5 separate regions of the Homo sapiens genome follow, and regions 2, 3, 4 and 5 are each linked to region 1. Evidence: promoter capture Hi-C in 16 types of primary human blood cells and fetal thymus (Javierre and others, 2016). All regions are on one chromosome and are shown on one strand. Each heading gives the region's core, a stretch centred on a gene start or on the middle of the fragment in contact. The rest is flanking DNA. Distances are from core to core; before and after follow the strand shown.

Evidence for each region. Contacts are between HindIII fragments. The CHiCAGO score rates a contact against its expected background, and 5 or more counts as called.
Region 2: a fragment that was not itself captured here is called in contact with the fragment with the promoter of ICE1 in region 1 in 5 of 17 cell types (monocytes, non-activated CD4 T cells, activated CD4 T cells and 2 more); the score reaches 6.3 in monocytes.
Region 3: a contact is called between a fragment that was not itself captured here and the fragment with the promoter of ICE1 in region 1, in 11 of 17 cell types (total B cells, naive CD4 T cells, naive CD8 T cells and 8 more). The highest score is 31.0, in total B cells.
Region 4: a fragment that was not itself captured here is called in contact with the fragment with the promoter of ICE1 in region 1 in 5 of 17 cell types (total B cells, naive CD4 T cells, total CD8 T cells and 2 more); the score reaches 8.6 in total B cells.
Region 5: a fragment that was not itself captured here is called in contact with the fragment with the promoter of ICE1 in region 1 in 1 of 17 cell types (endothelial precursors); the score reaches 5.5 in endothelial precursors.

The regions. Positions count from the first base shown.
Region 1 is chr5:5,421,427-5,423,972 of GRCh38, reverse strand. ICE1 (interactor of little elongation complex ELL subunit 1) reads right to left here and starts at 1,296. Exons shown (of 19, transcript NM_015325.3): 1 at 974-1,296. The coding sequence starts at 1,057. It overlaps LOC101929200 (a long non-coding RNA gene), which reads left to right and starts at 1,844. Exons shown (of 6, transcript XR_001742583.3): 1 at 1,844-2,546. RefSeq lists silencers at 864-1,003, 1,064-1,393 and enhancers at 1,424-1,673, 1,539-2,049, 2,050-2,546. The HindIII fragment of the contact is 2,607 bases long and covers 777-2,546 here.
Region 2 is chr5:6,763,126-6,765,671 of GRCh38, reverse strand. It overlaps LOC107986401 (a long non-coding RNA gene), which reads right to left. Exons shown (of 2, transcript XR_007058681.1): 2 at 611-2,546. Among named protein-coding and RNA genes, the nearest start is that of LINC02236, 31 kb to the left of the region's middle. The HindIII fragment of the contact is 7,832 bases long and covers 1-2,546 here.
Region 3 is chr5:6,745,498-6,748,043 of GRCh38, reverse strand. TENT4A (terminal nucleotidyltransferase 4A) reads right to left here. Exons shown (of 13, transcript NM_006999.6): 7 at 1,617-1,830. Among named protein-coding and RNA genes, the nearest start is that of TENT4A, 33 kb to the right of the region's middle. The HindIII fragment of the contact is 2,147 bases long and covers 191-2,337 here.
Region 4 is chr5:6,682,426-6,684,971 of GRCh38, reverse strand. It overlaps LOC124900934 (a long non-coding RNA gene), which reads left to right and starts at 519. Exons shown (of 2, transcript XR_007058680.1): 1 at 519-831; 2 at 1,305-2,156. The HindIII fragment of the contact is 574 bases long and covers 994-1,567 here.
Region 5 is chr5:6,581,074-6,583,619 of GRCh38, reverse strand. LINC01018 (long intergenic non-protein coding RNA 1018) reads right to left here and starts at 1,484. Exons shown (of 5, transcript NR_024423.2): 1 at 1,354-1,484; 2 at 1,019-1,200; 3 at 1-17. RefSeq lists silencers at 144-305, 353-402. The HindIII fragment of the contact is 6,908 bases long and covers 1-2,546 here.

The sequences.
Region 1 (2,546 bases), core at 47-2,546:
CCTGACTACTCTAGCTAAGAGACAAGACCAATATTCCAACATCCTCCTTTATTTTCTAACACCTAAAATCTTCTGAGGCCTTATTCACACATATGCATCTTACTTATGAGAGATCCTATTTTGTTCACCACAATGTCTGTAGTTCCTAGAACACTAGGCAGAGTAGGTAATGAGGTGCTGGTGAGTTCCGTTTTATCACTGAAACCGCGATAGTAGGAAGTTAAAAGAGACCCCCGACATCAGGCAGCTAGGAGAGTCGTGGGAAATGAGGGGCACTATTGCCCAAGTACCACCCCATAAGATCTGGAGCCATACTCTAGCAATTCTCCCTTATGTCACTCTAAAGAAGAGCCCACGCCGCTGTTAGAAACCTCCAGTCTCTGCATGCCTTTCATAAACTACTTTTATCAAACAACTGACAAGCTACTTGACCAATTACTTGGCTTGCTTTTTAAAAAATTAGCCTCGGGATGGCACATCTGCTATAAGCTGAAACGCCTCCCTAGACTCTTCGAGTCTAAGACTCAGACAACCCACATGTCACGTAAGATTCTGCCTCCAAACAACAAATACTCAGGATGGGCCAGAAGACCAAAGCGTTATCCTCAGGGAGATAACTGCCCTCGGCGTTTCACCTGTCCCTCACTGACCTACGGAGTCTGCCCTAGGGAGCTCCGAGGCCGGGTAGGGAAGGTGGGGGGCCCTCCAAACCTCGCTTACTCCACCCCCACCGTTACACCAGCGCATTCCAGTCAATGAACTCTGGGTTTCAAGCTTAAATAAAGCAAAGAAAGCCGTCCCCAAAACTCATGTAGGAAAAAGAGAGCAGAGAGACGAGCGAGCAAGAGCTACGGTTGGGAAGGGAGAGCAGCGCACTGAGGCACAGCCCGCGCGGCCGGACCCCACATCCCTGCGCTCCCGGCCGGCCGAGCCGAGTCCCCCCCCGCGCCCGGGGCCCCGGGAGGTGCTGCACCTGCTGCAGAGAGGCGCAGCCCTGACATCGCGACAGGTCCGCCGCCGTCCCGGGCGCCGCCGAATGGGTCTCGCCCGGCATCATGGTGCCGCCGCCGGGCCCGGTGGGCACGCACGCCTCAGGGGCCCGCGGCGTCGGCCCCGTCCTGTCTCTGCTGATGCCGCCGGGGCCGCCGCCTGCCAGGCCGCTTCCCGCCAGGTCCGGGCGGGTCCATCCGTGCACAGAGGTCCCCGTGGGGCTAGCAAAAGGCTCTCCGAGCCAGAGCTGCCTCAGGCACTAAAAAGAAACGCTACCCGGCGCGGCCCCCGAGCGCGACGCAGTCCAGTCAGGGCCCCGCCCCGCCCTGGCTCGCCCCGCCCCGCCCTGGCTCGCCCCGCCCCTCCCCTGGGCGCGGGGCTGCCTAAGGCGCTGCCTGAGCAACACCGGGAGAGGAGCTGTGCTATGCGGCGGGGGAGACGCCCACAGAGGAGCAGCCAATAGGAGTAGAAGGATCGAAGGTGCATTCCTACCACTGTTAAGGGTCGATCCTTTATTGCCACCTTGCTGTACGACAGGCTTTCCATAGACACCTAAAGGCCTCCGCTATGTGGGCGGTGACCCGCCCGTGACGTAAGCTCCAGACGCCTGAGAAGTGGAAGGACCCGGCGTCCAGGACAGGAAAGTGCGTGATTTACAGCTAGAGGGATAGGCGCTGTCCCGGAGCCCGTCCTGGGCCAGGGAGCAGGAGAGGGAGGGACTACAGTTCCCGACGCGCTGCGGGGCGGGCGGAGATCGTGCGCTTCGGCGCCAGTTGCACGGCCTTAGCAGCCAGTGGCGGCTCCCCTGCTCCTGTAACAGTCCCCTTGTCTTCTGACCTTTCGCTCCTCGGTCATGTGTCCTCGCCGGTCGCCGCGGCAGCCAGTGATGCCCGAGCGGCGGGTTCCCAGGCCCAGGTGTGGGCGCCACCGCCCACCATGCGCCAAGCCCAGAGCCTGGTTGAATCGTTCGCCACCTTGTCTACCCATTTTGGCCATTATCCTGCCACCTCCAAATCCTGTTTTTGACACTTCTCGGGAGAGAGAGAAAACGGAAAGATAAAGGAATAAACTCCTCGTGGTCGTAGTTAGTGGGTAAATTCAGATCTCGTTTGAACCGAGGTTTTTCTTATCTCCAGCCACCGTATCCACCACCACCAGAATCGTCTTTTTAGTCATCACAGCTGGTCGCCGTCAGTACCTTGTTCAGAAGCCTCTCGCAGCTTCCATCGTGTGGTTATACAATCCAAATTCCTTATAAAGTCCAAATTCAAGAGGAGGAATGCACGTTTAGTTAAGTTAATGTCTAGACCTTACCAGCCAATTTCTAGCTCCTCAGTATGGAAATTGCAACTGAAAACACCCCTTCCAAAAAAAGCAGTCTGCATTTTTCTCTGAGTTTTCTTCTCCAAATTTCGCACCCCTGACCTTGCTTACACACTCTGGATACCACCTGCTGTGGAGTGGCGGAAGCAGACATCCAGCGATAGCTAAGTTTCCTGTCGTTGACACCCAAGCAAGACAGGCGTGTACCTAACTGAGGACCTGCCGGTGATAGA
Region 2 (2,546 bases), core at 23-2,522, 1.3 Mb before region 1:
CCTGAGAGGAGAGACAGACTCATCAGTAAGCACCCCATGCAGGAACTTAAGAACTGAAATGAAACAACACTGGCAATCATCTGTCTCATTGTGGCTCCAAGTCGCCTTGCTCCTGTGCTGATGAGCTAGCAGGCACTTTTAAAAAACCAAAGAGGGGCTGGGTATGGTGGCACACGGCACTTTGGGAGGCTGAGGAGGGAGGATCGCTTGAGCCCAAGAGTTCGAGACTACCCTGGACAACATGGCAAAACCCCGTCTCTACAAAAAACAATAATAATAATTAACTGGGCATGGTGGAACATGCCAGTAGTCCCAGCTACTCTGGAGGCTGAGATGAGAAGATTGCTTGAGCCTACGAGTATGAGGCTGCCATGAGCTGTGATCACACCACTGCACTCCAGAGCAAGAAGACCTTGTCTTAAAAAAAAAAAAAAAAAAAAAAAATCCAAGAAAATCATCCAGGATGGCAACACTTGAGTGACTTATGTTACAATTAAATGAAGGACCTTAGCATTGTATTAAGTTATATTAGACAGTGCTTGACTTAATGATTTTTCAATTTTATGATGGTGTGGAAGCCGTATGTGTTTAGGAGAAACCATACTTAGAGTACCCATACAACCATTCTGTTTTTATTTCAGTAAAGCATACAATACATTATGTGAGATTGTGTACCCATTAATCAACCTCTCTTCATCCCCCTACTCCCAATCCTTCCCAGCCCCTGGTAACACCAGTCCATTCTCTATCTTCAGAAGATCCACTTCAGCTCCCACATCCGAGAACATGCAGTATTTACCTTTCTGTTTGGCTTGTTTCACTTAACATAATGGCCTCCAGTTCTATCTGTGTTTCAAATGGCTGAAGAGTGTTCCACTGTGTATTTACACCACATTTTCTTTATCCATTCATCCACTGATGGGCACTTAGATTGATTCCACATCTTGGCTCTTGTCAATAGTGCTGCAAAAAACATGGAGTGCAGATGTCTCTTCAATAATTTTTTCTTTTGGATATATGCCCAATAGTGAGATTTCTGGATCACATGGTAGTTCTAGATCAGTAGGGACACTAAAGTTTATAACAATCTATTGTATGTTTCAAAATAGATAGAATAATTCCAATGTTTTTAGCATAAAGAAATATTTAAGGTGATAGATCTCCTGATTACTCTGATTTGACCTATACAAATTATATGAACATATTAAACTATCACATGTACTAAAATATGTACATATATTACATCAATTTTAATATTAATAAAATCAGCTTGTGTTAGATGATTTTGCCCAACTGGATGCAAATATAAGTGCTCTACGCATATGTAACATAGACATTCGGTAGGTTAGGTGTATTAAAAGCATTTTTGACTTACAGTGGGTTTATCGAGACCTAACCATATCATATAAGTCAAAGAGCATCTGTAGGTACCTAGATTTCAATTTTCCTTAATAAAGGAAACTTGAGTCTTAACTCTCTTTCCTGCTGCCTTTTTCAAGGTAAAATACTGTCCTTACCCACTAAAGCTCTGCTATTTGCTTGCTACTGACTTTCTTTAGCATGGAATCACAGAAGCACAGAGAAGCATAACTGCCTGTCCACAAGCCAGTGAAACTGCATCAAGCAATTTCTACATGCCTGGCAGTGTTGAGCCCACGAGGAACAGACACCCATGGTCACAATTTATTGAGTAAAGAAGATAAATTTGAAAAGTTAAATATTGACCCAAGAGAAATATGTTCTTATAATGAATACGTAATTAACTGACAGATATAGGACCCAACACTAGAGAAGAGGCAGAGGAGAGGAGTCATCGAGGCTCTCAGGGATGCAGAGCCGTACTGCACGTGGAAGGGGTGGCTACCGGAGCGAGTGGACAGAGGTGGAGGAGGAGGGAGTTACCTGAAAGACAGCTGGTCCCCATTCACAGAGGACACTGGGGACAACAGGCAGGGGGCTGTCCTGTCCCTGGGGACATACAAGGGGAGACAGAAGGGTCAGCGCCTCCCTACATGTAGGCACGACCCCTTCTGTGCCAGACCAGCCTTGGGTCTTTGACCACTTTGAACAAGCTAGAAACACAGGACACGTACAGAGGGGGAGACTAGACGAGAAATGTTCCAACCGCTCTTTGTTCTGCACCCAAAACAGTGTTAAGCAGCATTGAGACCTTGTCCACGTGGTGTCAACTCTGGCTGGAGGATGCCTCCTTATCAAAGGGCCACCCACTGTGGATCCCGTCCTGCCATTGCCTTTGAAAAGGAGTTCTGGGGCCCCCATCAAAAGGAGCCATGCTCTGCCCAGTTCTGAAGACCCGTTCCGGGCAGGATCGTGGCTGTCCCTCTCCGTGCTTTGGTGCATGTCTCACGTAACAGGTCCTGCCCATGAGTGGTGGTAAAAAAAAAAAAAAAATTTAGTGACTGGGCCACCAGCATTTTAAAAAATTAAATAGAACACAAAAGACGAGAGCGACTGTAGCAAGGGAGGTCATGACATGATAAACAGTTACATTTTCATGGTGGCAAAGTAAGATGAGTTCCTCTGGC
Region 3 (2,546 bases), core at 15-2,514, 1.3 Mb before region 1:
CACAGTGCCCCAACAGGGCAGGTAGAAGGGCAGCTCACCCCAAGTGCATCACAACTCAGTCAACGCTAATGGAACCTACAGGAAGTAAATCCTTTAGAATGGAATGTGAATTCTCACGTGTGGAAAACTGGGACAGCAAATCAAAGGAATCTGTCACAGCAGTCACCAAGGAAGCCAGTCAGGAGAAGCTTAATTTTCATAAGAAAAGCACTGTTTCTAATTTTAATCTACAAACAACTCATTCTTCACAATCAGGTTAAGTGTGGATTTCTTTTAAAGGATATATGTTCTAAGTACTGGAGTTTTATCTTTTCTAGATTTATATTATAACTCAACGATTATGTGGGTCTTTGTTTTTTGAGTACATTTCAGCAGACACTTGAAGACAATGCCAATGTCTCCAATGTGACTCATCCAACGGACAAAAATGGATGATACACTGCCATACCGTGCTACCAAGAAAACCACTCAAGAGCCTGCACAAATCATGCCATCTATAAACAACAACAAAACACATCAGCCAATGTGTTTTCCTTGAGACGATCTTTAGGAAATAAATAAAGCTCACATCCCAGAAGCCATAAAACAAAAACAACCATTAAATCTGAGGTGTTTTTTTAAATGTATAGGAGCTGAATAAAAAAATACAAATGCAAAAAACAAATTGGAAAAAGTATGACATGTGTGACAAGAAAGGCTTCCCCGACACACACAGGCCTTGCACACAGCAGAGGAGGGCAGCCAGCAACCGGGCGGACAGCACACAGAGCCACACAGAGGAGAAGGCCCAGGGACACGCGCCTGGAGCTGGGCTCTCCACCACCTGTTCTGTCACCCGTCCGCCAACGATTTTATCACCAACAGTAAGAATGGTATCTCACCTAACAGACGCTCAATCAAAATTTGTGGAATTCATAAATAGCAATGTGTTTAACCCCACTAATCATTAAAGAAATATAAATTTAAAAGCGTTAACACATGGTTTTATCAGATTGGCAAAGATTTTAAAAGACTGTCACCAAAGGAATGAGGACATAAATACCCCTGAATACGCCAATGGGAATAAAACCGGGAAACCTCTAGCCCAGCCTTAGACTCTTCAATGCGGCAATCCTCACGACAAAACACAACCTACACACATAGGAAAGGGTCAAGGGTAAGCGTTAAGTCAAAAGCCAAGTGACAAACGTGTTTGCGTTGTGGGATGTGTTCAACAAGATAACAATAATAAACATTAATATCCATATAGGGAAAAAGTGGAGAAATACATGTCCAAATAAAAGGGGATTATGGCATCCATGGTTTTTCTATATTACATACTTCAGAGAAACAAATGGTTTAGGGTGGATATGTTATACTTCAATAATCAGAAAAAGAAAAGATTTTCCTTAATTCTTCTTTATTATAGAATGTAAACAGTTAGAAAGACAAAAGTTAATTAGAAGCATTAAATAAGGATTTCTCAAAGTGTGATTATTAACTGGTTAGTATAAGAGAAACCTGCATCAAGAGCAAATGAACTGCCCGGGGCTCTCAGAGCCCCAACACAGGCCCTGTCACCAGCACGTCCCCGAGGCTGGCCCAGCTCTCAGCAGTGGAGATCAGGGCGCCCTTACCTGGCAGCAGGGGGTCCTCAATGCACAGCATCGACGGTCTGTACCCGCTGGTCATGGCTTTCATGATCTCCTCTTTGGCGATATAGGCACCTCCTTCTTTGATTCTAATACCGGTTTTCAAGTAATTAAAATTTCTCCCATAGAGTTCAAAAAATTCTACAAGAAGCATTCCAAGGTTTTCATCAGCTCTCCGGGCATCAATTCTTGGATGCAACTGTAAAAGCAATGCACCCACAATTTGTATGGATTCATGGCATGTTCTAAAGAAAATAGCACGCGACGAAGTCTGCTGTCCAGCAGCCTCTTCAAGGCAATACCAGTGAGTGGCACTCGCTCACTCACCAGCACCACGAGGAAGCCTGAACAGCAGCCTCTTCAACGAGGAGTGTTCAAAAGGAACACAACGGACTCATCTGAATTTTAGTGTAGTTTGATTTTTGAAATTGGTAATCCATACAGCAAACTTCCTGCAAACACAGATATCTGATTAACCAAATATGGGCAAATAAGTTGGACTATATTCTGCATAACTTAGTCACCTGGATGGTAGATGTAATTTCAGATTCTCGTCATCCTAATTTCGTTATGCTGAAGCACAACCAACAGGGGTCAGTGTTAGACTGACTAGTATGGCAGTATCACATAAAACCGGAAAAGTGAAAGGATTGATTTTAGCTGTGTAAAGGTCATTAGCATTATATCACAATATTTATAGCAAGCTTCCATCCTGCTTGTCACACAGATGAGCACCACTCTCAGTTCAGTGCCATATCGTCTTCAAAAGCAGGCACTGGGCTTGTTCGGAAGTAAACCACTGTCCACCACACCTCCTGAGGGTCATAATTCTCAGCTGTCCAGACCTGCATTGCCCACATGTCTATTTAAATGAATTAAAACAAATTAATTAAAAATCCAGCTTGTTGCTCTCAC
Region 4 (2,546 bases), core at 31-2,530, 1.3 Mb before region 1:
TGGCACAGGTGGAAACCCAAGAACCCGTGGGGTTCACCTGGCCCTGGGGGTTCACCTGGCCCTGGAGTCATGCTCTGAACACAGTGGAGCAGGCACCGGCTGTGCATCCCACACTGTCTGCTCTGCGGGAAGAAGCACATCTGCTTCCCCAGGACCACCTGCAACAGCCTCTGCACAGTGTCTATGTCTCTGCCTGCCCCAGAGGGTCTTTTTGAGATGGAGTCTTGCTCTGTCGCCCAGGCTGGAGTGCAGTGGCACAATCTCGGCTCACTGCAACCTCCGCCTCCCCGGTTCAAGTGATTCTCCTGCCTCAGCCTCCTGAGTAGCTGGTATTACAAGCGCGAGCCACCACGCCCGGCTAATTATTGTATTTTTAGTAGAGACGGCATTTCACCATGTTGGCCAGGCTGGCCTCAAACCAGGAGGGTCTTAAACCCTTTCTATGAATTACTCTCCATTGAAATTAGTAATTTTTTGTGTATGTCGTGATATTTTCCAGTTCCAAGTCTTCTGAAAAGGGTAGGACGCTAACTTGTAAAGGTTACTGTGATGGTAAATTTTAGGTGTCAACTTGGCTAGGACACAGTGCCTCTTTGTTTGGTCAAACACTAATGTAGGTGTTGCTGTGAAGGTATTCTGTAGATGTCAGTAAAGGAGATTACCCCGGATAATGTGGTGGGCCTCATCCAATCAGTTGAAGGTCACAGGAGCAAAAACTGAAGTTTCCCAGAGAAGAAATTCTGCCTCAGGATGGCAGCACCATCTCCCGCCTGGGTTTCTAGCCTGCTGGCCTGTAGATTCCAGACTTGCCAGCCCCCACAGCTCAGTGAGGTAATGCTTAAAATAAATATATTTATCTATCCATCTATCCATTCTATCGGTTCTATCTCTCTGGAAAACTCTGACTGATACATGTACATATTTAAAATATAATACAGGTATCAAAACACCTGCATTAGGAATAGATGAACACACCCATATAAAGTATAAGCTTTTTGATAGAGGTATCTGGTTGACTTTCTGTATCAATCAATTGAATGAAGTCAATTGGGAAATTTCTGTCATTTTTGTTTTTCTTATGTCTCAAGAATCTGAGATGAAATCAAATCACTAATGTGTAATTAATGTTACTTAGCTACATGTTATGATTTGATTATTTATAGAAACTTATTGATATACAACAGTATTAATATATCACATTTAACTTTACATTGTCTATGCATATGAAACATCTGATTACTACTTGTTTTACAGAATAGTGTCATTTTGCAGGGAAAATTAATATCCTGCTGTTGTTATTGTAGAGGGGATCTAATACCTGGGGATAAATCTCCTCTGTGAGAGTGAATCGAGGCAGAATCAAGAGAAGCAAGTGAGACCCGCTGTGAGTGGGTACCTCACATCCCACACATCTACCTCCACCTATGAGGAGCCACAGGACCTGCCTGCCTGCCTGGCCGCTCTCCGCAAGCGCACAGAGCCTTTCTGTGCTTAGGCCACACGTGCCCAGCATATGGTGCAAATAACCATTTATCGAGTGCACTGAACTGAGGCCTCAAGGCAAGCTTACCGCTGTGCAGGGTTAATGACAAACCCAAGGTGGGCAGCCTGGAGCTAGCCACAGTCCAAGCCAAAAGCTCCAGTGACATCTGCTCTGTGTCCAAAAGGTAGAAGGAAAGGAAAGAACACAGTGTACCAACTTATCTCAAATAAAATAATTACTTATTACCAACATCAAGTATGAAATGTGAAGCTATTCTGTGCCAGTTACAGAAAAGCTATATTACTATGTACATTACAGAATAAATTACTAAGTTTTGACTAGAGTATAAAATTTATTTGTCTTAATTTCTAGTAAGTTTTATTTGTTGAAATATAGACTCATAACATTCAAGACAGTGCTGGGTGTCGACTTCTGAACACAGCACACACTGGATAGTGTATGACACGCTGTGCAACACAACAGGGCAAAAAATTGGAAACCTGCTTTTCTGCAGTAACTTTTCATTTGCCCTAGACAAGGAACATTGCACGGCTTATTTTGACAATGATGCTCTTGTATTCATTGAATAAGTCATCTAATCTGTAAGAATCTACGTTTTATTCCCATGTGACTTAATAAAGCATTTTCATTATGAATAAAAATGTGAACTGCATAAACATTTGTATTTTATTTGAATTGGTTCTTAAGGGGGGGATAGGGTGTTGTTTTTCACTGCTTTATACAAATGTAAGGCATAGAATCATTCTCTTAAAAAATTAAAACAAAACATTTCATTAATTATTTACTTACTTGCCTAAAAATGTCTTTATGACCAACAAATGGAACAGCTTTTGCACTTCAAAGTAAAATCTTCACTTTCACAAATCACCAGCAGCGCAGCAGAGCCAGCCATGGGAGGCAGACGAGGCACGAGACTTCCCAGAGCCTGTCGATCCCCGTCACTTCTGTCTGTCCTGGAGTCTGAGCCCTAGCGTCACCCCTCTAGCCCCGACCCTCTAGCCCAATTCCTCTAGTCCCGCCCTTCTATCTCCACCTCTCTAGC
Region 5 (2,546 bases), core at 23-2,522, 1.2 Mb before region 1:
TCCCTCTCCTCTGCCACCTGGAAGGGACGGAGCACCTGACGCGCGCATCGGGGGCAAACGCCGCAAGTTTCTGTGACGTGAGGTCTTTGCAGGTTGCCGGGGCCTTCCTCCCACAGGGACACGCGGCCTGCGCCCTCCTAGGCGTGCAGGTGCGGCTGGGAACTGGCGCCCTTCAAAGCCCCAGTGTCCCGGAGCCGACAGCGCGCGGGTGGAGGAGCTGCAGAAAGGGGCCCACGCCGCAAAGGCGCTGTTGTCGAGGTCCCCCATGGGGTTCCAGGGCTGGTGCTGGCGAGCCCCGGCCGCGCCGCCCCATCTTTACCGCGCACCCCGGCCGCTCCGCCCCCTCTACCGCGCACCCCGGCCGCGCCGCCCCCTCTACCGCGCACTCCGGCCCGCCCAGCCCCCGCGGCCCCGCGTTCCCCGCCTCCCGCGGCTCCTCAGCCCAGCGGCCAGCAGGGGATGCTGCCGGGCTCCGAGGCCCGGGTCCTGCGCGGCGCCGCGGGGAGACACGCGAGTCCCGGGCCGGCGCCGCCCTAGGCCGGGAGGGTGTGCAGCGTGACTGCGGCGAGCCCCGACGCCCGAGAAGCGGGGACCTGCTCTCGGGGGGATTCTTTGGAGACAGCCTGGGCGCTGGGGAATCCGGCGGGTGGGGAGGACCCAGCTCGGCCCTTGAGGCGCTCAGGCCTAGTCCAGGCCATACAGGTGTGCAGGACAGGGACCAGCCACAGGCCGCACGCACCTTAATATGCAGTGAATAAAAAAGACCAGACGGACCTGGGGTTGATGACGCCATCTGAACAAAGCGTCCCCGCCCCACATACCGTTCGCCCCTCCTGAGTCCGTCTCGTCGGTGGGAGCAGAGCCAGGGAAAATCACTAAGGACTCTCCCCTCCAAGGCGAGGACTTGCCTGACCCGCTTAGGCAGCGCCAGCCTCCCAGGTGCAGGTGGCTTCGCCCTCCCCTAGCTGGAGTTAGGGTGTGTCCATGCTCTGAGTCCTGGACTCCAGGAGGTACTCACCGTGTCAGCAGAAGGACGCATGAATCTATTTGAGGTCACGTACCAAAGAGCTGCAGCGCCTGGCTCCTTAATGCAGAGGCATTAGGAAGCGAGTTGTCTACTTGCGATGAATGATGAAGGACTCCACTTTACAGAGGAAGAGAGAAAACCTTGCCGCAAATCAGTCACCTTCGGACTCCAACCTAATTGACCAAAGTTAGGTTATTGATGAGGTTATTGATGGGCTGGACACCAGTGAGCTGAGAACGAGCAGTAGTTAATCCCCAGTGTCCACAAAGAGCCTGATGGCCACTGTCCCTCCATGTCCCCTCCCGGCCCAGGAGTCAGCCAGGCACCTGGGCACCGTTCACTGGGTTTTCCTGCAGGGCTGTGTGGGGGTGAGCACAGGGTGGCCCCTCTCCTTCCCGAACCCTTAATTTCTTATTGTTATATGTGTCCTTCTCACAGGGGAAGCTGAACCCAGGATGAGCTTATTCAAAAATATGTTTTTCTATTCCCCTCAAAAGGAATTGGCAGTAAACGTGTTTCTCTTTTTTACTCTCTGGAATTTTATCTGTATCTTGAAATTCCTGCCAAAACCCACAATCTAAGGCGATGCATTATTTAAAAATCAACTGAATTTCAACTAGAAATGGAATGTGAACATTATAAAGCAGAAGCTACTCTTCAGCTCTTTTCCTGGTTCCCCAGAGAAACCAGGCAAGGAGATGATGTGGGGGTTGGTCAGAATCTGGGGGAGACAAAGGGTGGGCTTCCTGGGGCCTGTGCTTCTTGGGGCCAGTTAGCTGGGTGACCTCAGGAGACACCCGACGGTGTCTCAATTCTCTCACTGCTGAAAGAGGCGGGTGGGACCTATGGATTGTCCGTATCCCTTCCAGCTTGGATCTGTCATTCCACGGCTAGGTGCTGAGAGCCTACAGGTCCCACTTGGCAGCCTTCCGAGTTACCTGCTTGGGGAAGGTTTCATGATGCATGGTTTGCATCCTGTCCCCTGAGTAAAGGGTCTTCTCGTGAATCCCTCAGATCTTCTCGTACCCTTCTCCAACTGTCAACATACAGATCAATGTGAAAAAAGACACTGATTTATTTCTGTTTTACTTATTTATTTTTTGGAAATGGGGCTTTGAGCTGTGGCCCAGGTTGGAATGCAGTGGCACCATCATAGCTCACTGTAACCTCAAACTTCTGGCCTCAAGGGATCCCCCACCTCAGCCTCGAAAAACTCTGGGATTACAAGCATGAACCAGTGCACCAGGCCCTGATTTGTCTCTGAATCATGAAGTTTTGCCAGTTGTCTTGCAGATAGAATGCTTTAGCATGTGTTTGTGTTGTAATCTGAAGCTAATGATTGTAACCTCTTTGGGACACCCTGGTACCCTCCAATGGAAAGGACAACTCCAATGTAAGGAGTGCCCTCCCCTCCCTGCTCCTAAACTTTCTCATAGAACTATTCTGACCCTGGAACAATCCTCACATTTGGCTTCCAGTAAACCTTTCTCAAATTATTTCTGCCTCAATAGCCTTAATT